Regions from separate parts of the Homo sapiens genome. Here region 1 is linked to region 2. Evidence: promoter capture Hi-C in human tissues and cell types (Jung and others, 2019). All regions are on one chromosome and are shown on one strand. Each heading gives the region's core, a stretch centred on a gene start or on the middle of the fragment in contact. The rest is flanking DNA. Distances are from core to core; before and after follow the strand shown. Region 1 overlaps MYO7B (myosin VIIB). Region 2 holds the start of SFT2D3 (SFT2 domain containing 3).

Region 1 (3,066 bases), core at 500-2,999, 130 kb before region 2:
TCGAGCCCCTTCTAAATACCAGGCAGGGTACAAAACAGTTAACATTTGATCTTCCTGGAAATATGTTCCCTGGGAGCTCACCTTCCTGGTGGATATCCCATCTTCCCAGAGGAGAGATCTGCGCAGCTGAATGTCTGATCTCCCTGGCCCAGAATCAGATTCTACTTCCCCACCAAAGTCAGTGGCCCTGATAACCCCGAGGGCAGAGCCAGAGCCAAGGCCAAGGCCAAGGCCAGGGCCGAGTACCTCTGCCAGGGGCAGAGGGCACTGACCACCTGCTTCCTTCCCAGACATACACAGGCTCCATCCTGGTGGCCGTCAACCCGTTCCAGGTGCTGCCGCTCTACACCCTGGAGCAGGTACAGCTCTACTACAGCCGCCATATGGGCGAGCTGCCCCCGCATGTCTTTGCCATCGCCAACAACTGCTACTTCAGCATGAAGAGGAACAAGAGGGACCAGTGCTGCATCATCAGGTGAGGCAGAGGGGTCAGGCACCACCTCCAGGCATCTCCCTGAACTGCTCCCCACCAGCATGCCTGCAAGATCAGGCGAGATGAGAGCTCTCCCTACTCCATGGCACACACCCATCTCCACAGCACACAACGGCCCCAGTTACCCTGCACCCCGAGCAGTTCCCCCAAAGCTTCCTTCCTTCAGAACCTAGGCTTTCATCGTGTCACCAGGGACTGGACTGCCCAGCTTTTAATAAAGGTTTACTGAGTCAAGGAAGGAAGTTGGGCTGGGTTCCTTTAGAAATGGGCCCCAGGAGTCGGGCATAGTAGCTCATGCCTATAATCCCAGGGACTTGGGAGGTCAAAGGAGGAGGATTGCTTGAGGCCAGAAGTTTGAGACCAGCCTAGACAACATAGCAAGACCCTCTCTCTGTAAAAATAAAAAAAGAAAAAGATATGGGACCCAGGTTAGGCACTTAAAGCTGCAGGAGTTGAACAGGTGAGGGCCCACTCAAAAAAAAACACAGGGCAGGCCTCAGGTGAGGACAGAGGAGCAGCAGCTCCAGGGGACAGCTCTCAGTTCACTAGGGGACCAGAAGGAAAGTGTCCCCTCCAGTCCAGGTCCTGACTGCTTCAGAGACTCCCTGCCTGGCCTGGCCTCTCTACCAGTGACCACAGACCCTGAGAACTTGGAGGGGAGGGTGTGGCAGGCTGGCCACGGGGATGGAAGCCACCCCTCAGGGGAGTCTGCACCCGTTGTTCCAGGAACACTGGATCCTAGCAGAGAACTTTGGTGTCCTCAGCCCCATGCACCCCAACTCAGTCCATGGCGTGGATGACATGATCCACCTGGGGGATTCATTCATTCATTCATTCATTCATTCAATCATTTGAGGTTTTGTCATGCCCCAACTGAGTGCCCCCAACTGTCCTAACATGGTGAGGCAGCAGCTAACAAAAGGGACCAGAATCCCTTCCTCAGGGAGCTTATATTCTAGAAGCGGAGACAGACAGGCAACAAATAAGTGCGTTTTTATGTAGGTCCTAACAGCTTTGAAGAAAAACACAGCAGGGGAGAGGAAAGGGTGATGTCGGCCTCTTCATTAGATAGGGGGCAGGCCAGGCACGGCCTCTCTGAGGAGGGATGTTGAACAGAGACCAGAATGAAGTCCTAAGGCACAGGTGATCACATTTCATGTCCTCAGCAACCCTCTGAAAGAGATGCTCTTATTCCCATGATATGGTCTCATGTTACTGCTGGAGAGACCTACAATCAGAGGGGCTGAGATCCTGTTCCAGTGGTACACAGCAGTGAAGTGGGAAATTCAAACCCAGGGCTCTGGAGAAGACAGCAGACAGGTACTCTGGGAGAAAGCTGGAACTCCCAACCTGCCCCCAGAGGCAGGGCAAGAGGCCCCTCAGCAGAGCTGGGCCGCAGGCTGGCTGGCCAGGGAGCTTACGGTGTGGCTCTACCTGGAGGTTGGCGGGGCTGGCAGTGTGAACAAGGAGAGGAAAGAGCCCCCTGATTTTGGTTCCTTGCAGTGAGCAGAATGTCACTTGTCACTTTGAATCAAATTGCATTCTCCTCCTGCCCTTTCCTCCCCCAGGGCTGTGGGCAAGTCCCCTTAAGCCCCTGTCTCTACAATGGCAGGTTATTTGATGAGCTCGTGTTTATAAAAACGCCTGGCGCTTGACAGGCACTCAGGGGAGTCCACAGCTATCACTGGAGGTTTGTTGATCTCACTCTGCTTTGCTGGCATAGTGATTGTGGGTATTTTGATCATAACTTTTAAAAAAGGTAATATTTTGGCCGGGTGCGGTAGCTCACGCTTGTAATCCCAGCACTTTGGGAGGCTGAGGCAGGTGGATCACCTGAGGTCAGGAGTTCAAGACCAGCCTGGCCAACATGGTGAAACCCCGTCTCTACTAAAAATATAAAAATTAGCCAGGCTTGGTGGCCGACGCCTGTAATCTCAGCTACTCAGGAGGGTGAGGCAGGAGAATTGCTGGAACTGGAGTGGGCGGAGGTTGCAGTGAGCTGAGATCGTGCCATTGCACTCCAGCCCAGGCCAACAACAGCAAGACTCCGTCTCAAAAAAAAAAAAAGACAGTATTTTCAGGCCAAGCACGGTGGTTTATGCCTGTAATCCCAGCACTTTGGGAGGCCGAGGCGGGCAGATCATCTGAGGTCAGGAGTTTGAGACCAGACTGGTCAACATGGTGAAACCTTATCTCTACTAAAAATATAAAAATTACCTGGGTGTGGTGGCAGCCACCAGTAATCCCAGCTACTCAGGAAGCTGAGGCATGAGAATCACTTGCACCCAGGAGGTGGAGGTTGCAGTGAGCCGAAATCATGCCACTGTACTCCAGCCTGGGTGACAGAGTGAGACTCCGTCTCAAAAAAAAAAAAAAAAAAAAGGTAATATTTTCAGATGAAGCAACATCTGGGATTTGCTTTAAAATAGTACAGGACGGGAAACAAAATTGGCCGGGAGTTGAAGCTGGATAATGGGACTGTGGGAGTCTGTTTTGCAAACTCCAAAGTGCAGGAATCCTCTGGGGATCTGGTGAAAATGCAGATTCTGATCAACAGAGCCTGTGTGACCTGG
Region 2 (3,157 bases), core at 387-2,886:
CGTAACAGTCCGTTGTATGCATATATCACATTTTATTGATCTGCTGGTGGACACTTGGGTTGCTTCCATCTCTTGACTGACATGAATAGTTCTGCTGTGAAGAGTTATACAAATCTCTGAGACCCTGCTTTCAATTCTTTGGGGTATATATCCAGAGTGGAACTGCTGGATTGGATTGTAATTATATACACACATACACACATAACTGTATACAAATATGTGTGTATATACGTTTATATGTGTCTGTGTGTGTGTGTGTGTATATATATATATATATATTTTTTTTTTATAGTAACTTCCATACTGTTTTCCACAGCGGATATAGCATTTTACATTCCCACCAACGGTGCACAAGGCTTCTAGTTTCTCCACATCCTTGACAGCACTTGTAACTTTCTGGTGTGTTTTTGTTTTTTTGTTTTGATTGTAGCCATCCTAATGGTTTAGCCCATGCTAAGTGATCAGGCTGGTCACTATTATTATCAAGTGAGATAACAAATCAGAATATATTTTGAAAAAGAATTGCATCTGCCAGGATCCAACCAAGAAAACAGAAAGCATTAAAAGGAACTTAATGGGGGAGATTAGTTACACACAGGGGATGGAAAGGCTGAGAAGCCAAACAGCAGGAAGCCGTTAACCTTACATCCACCTAGGGCAGAGGACAAAGGACACAGGGCCACCCAGGGGAAGCCAAGGTGGTGAGGGGAGCTGTGGAGGCAGCTGGAAGAATCTGGAGGAATCTGACCTGTGAGAGGAACCACAAGCAAACACCCTCTAGGAGGCTCTGAGAAACAGCAGGGCACGTGGGTGCGGCCTGGGAACAGATCAGGATTGACCTGCGTGCGAGCCAGCTTGTCACAGTGATGTGACGATGAGTCAGGACACCTGGGCGTGGCGCTGTCCAGAGCACGAGAGTGACACCAAACACATGGGACAGCAGCACCGAGTCTTGGACAAGGGGCGCGAAGGAGTCAAGGATGTTGCCAGGCCTGTGGCCGAAACTGAGAACAGAATAGAGAAGCAGGTTGAGGGTGCTGGGTGTCAACCCTTCCTTTATCAACCCCATGGTAAATGATCAGGATGGTCACTATTACTACAAGTGAGGTAACTAATCAGAACGCAACTTTCCCCAAAAAACCCACCTGAGTTACACAGGTCTGAACTTTTTTAAAAATTAAATTTTTATTTTGAGATCACTGTTTGTGTTCAGTTGTAAGAAACAAGAGAGATTCTGTGTACCCTTTACCCATTCCTCCATGTTGCAAAACTAGCACAATATCACCGCCACGGTAGACGCAGTGAGGCCATAAGACATTTCCGTCAGCAAAAGGGTCACTTCTTGTGCCCCTTTAGAACCACACCCACCCCTGCCTTCCAACTATTAATGCTGGCAGGACTTAGCCAGACCGCAAGGGCGCCTACTCCGAACAAGGAAGAGGGTCAGGCGCTGGGAGGGCGACTGCAAGCGGACAGGCAGCACCTGCGACCACGGTACTTGGGGACACCACAAAAGTCCGCAGAGCAGGCACCGCGGCACTTCCGCGAGCGCCGCAGGCCCTGCCCCTTTCGCCGTCGCCGACCAATTGCCGCCCGAAGACCGAACCGCTTCAGCGGAGGGCCGGAAGTGAGCCGCAGCTTTTCCTTTCTGCCACCGCCTTGTCCAAGATGGCGGACCTCCACCGCCAGCTGCAGGAGTACCTGGCGCAGGGGAAAGCTGGCGGCCCGGCGGCCGCGGAGCCGCTGCTCGCCGCGGAGAAGGCGGAGGAGCCCGGGGACCGGCCGGCGGAGGAGTGGCTGGGCCGCGCGGGCTTGCGCTGGACGTGGGCGCGGAGCCCTGCGGAGTCGGCAGCGGCCGGCCTGACGTGCCTCCCGAGCGTGACGCGCGGGCAGCGGCTGGCGGCGGGCGGCGGGTGCCTGCTGCTGGCTGCACTGTGTTTCGGCCTAGCCGCGCTCTACGCACCGGTGTTGCTGCTGCGCGCGCGCAAGTTCGCGCTGCTCTGGTCACTGGGCTCGGCGCTGGCGTTGGCGGGAAGCGCGCTGCTGCGGGGCGGCGCGGCGTGCGGACGCCTGCTGCGCTGCGAAGAAGCGCCGTCCCGGCCCGCGCTGCTCTACATGGCAGCGCTGGGCGCCACGCTGTTCGCCGCGCTGGGCCTTCGCAGCACGCTGCTCACGGTGCTGGGCGCGGGCGCGCAGGTGGCCGCGCTGCTGGCCGCGCTGGTTGGGCTGCTGCCCTGGGGCGGCGGCACCGCGCTGCGCCTCGCACTGGGTCGCCTGGGCCGCGGCGCCGGCCTCGCCAAGGTGCTGCCCGTGTGAGGACCTCGCGCCCTCGCCGCTGGGGAAGTACGCGGAGCCAGCGCCGTCGGAGACCGCGCCGGCCGAGCTGAGGACTGCACGCCGCTGTGCGGAAGCCCGTGGCGAAGGCCCTGCCCTAACAGCCTGCGAGTCTAATCCGGGAGCGGCTGCTGCCAGCGGAGGCGACAGCAGCGTTGGGAGCTCCTCGATGTCAGCTTTTTGTGCTGGACTTGGCACACGCTCTGAAAACTGAGATTTTGTCATTGAACTGGTGACAGGATGTGAGACGGTTATTAGAAGTTGCTTTCGAAGTAACTGTGGTCTTAGGTTCGGCTGAGTAAAGAAAAAGGATTTTTCTTCGAGTTAGCTGCTCTTGTGATTTTTCTCAGGCTGTTTTGTCATTTTAAAATCCAGTGGTAGATGTAGCTTAGCGACGGTAGTTTTTTGTTTTGGCTATACTAAGACTTGGAAATTATTCTCTCCAGTGTCAGCGAATCCAGAAGGGTATCAGATTAAACACCGAATTCAGCCACTGGACTTTTAAAAGTACTTAAGATGGTTTATCTCGGGTTTTTTCTTCAGTTAACAAAATCATAAATATGGTGCCTTATAACATGAAAGGAAAATTAGTTGTGTATTTCACGACGAAAGCGACGGACCAAAAGAAATTTCCTGCCCCAAGAAGCATGGGATCCAGGAAGGGGCGCGTAGATGCTTAACGGTCTCTTCGGAAATCCTGCAAATAGAAAGATAATTCTAGATCCGGAATACCTGTATCTGGTGGAAACCATGGATTTCTACAAGCTCGAATTATTCCTCATTGTATAGCCTGCTTTGTAAACTAGTTTACAATTTGCAGGCT

The links. Contacts are between HindIII fragments. The study calls those that stand out against the background at their distance.
Region 1: a fragment that was not itself captured here is called in contact with the fragment with the promoter of SFT2D3 in region 2 in 1 of the 25 tissues and cell types used here (H1 embryonic stem cells).

The regions. Positions count from the first base shown.
Region 1 is chr2:127,566,353-127,569,418 of GRCh38, forward strand. MYO7B (myosin VIIB) reads left to right here. Exons shown (of 48, transcript NM_001393586.1): 5 at 291-475. All of the region lies in intron 1 of LOC105373609 (a long non-coding RNA gene), which reads right to left. Among named protein-coding and RNA genes, the nearest start is that of MYO7B, 32 kb to the left of the region's middle. The HindIII fragment of the contact is 4,339 bases long and covers 1-3,066 here.
Region 2 is chr2:127,699,861-127,703,017 of GRCh38, forward strand. It overlaps SFT2D3 (SFT2 domain containing 3), which reads left to right and starts at 1,637. Exons shown (of 1, transcript NM_032740.4): 1 at 1,637-3,157. The coding sequence starts at 1,669. The coding sequence ends at 2,316. It overlaps WDR33 (WD repeat domain 33), which reads right to left. Exons shown (of 22, transcript NM_018383.5): 22 at 1,167-3,157. RefSeq lists enhancers at 159-1,358, 353-874, 586-955, 875-1,396 and a silencer at 1,716-2,395. The HindIII fragment of the contact is 9,833 bases long and covers 1-3,157 here.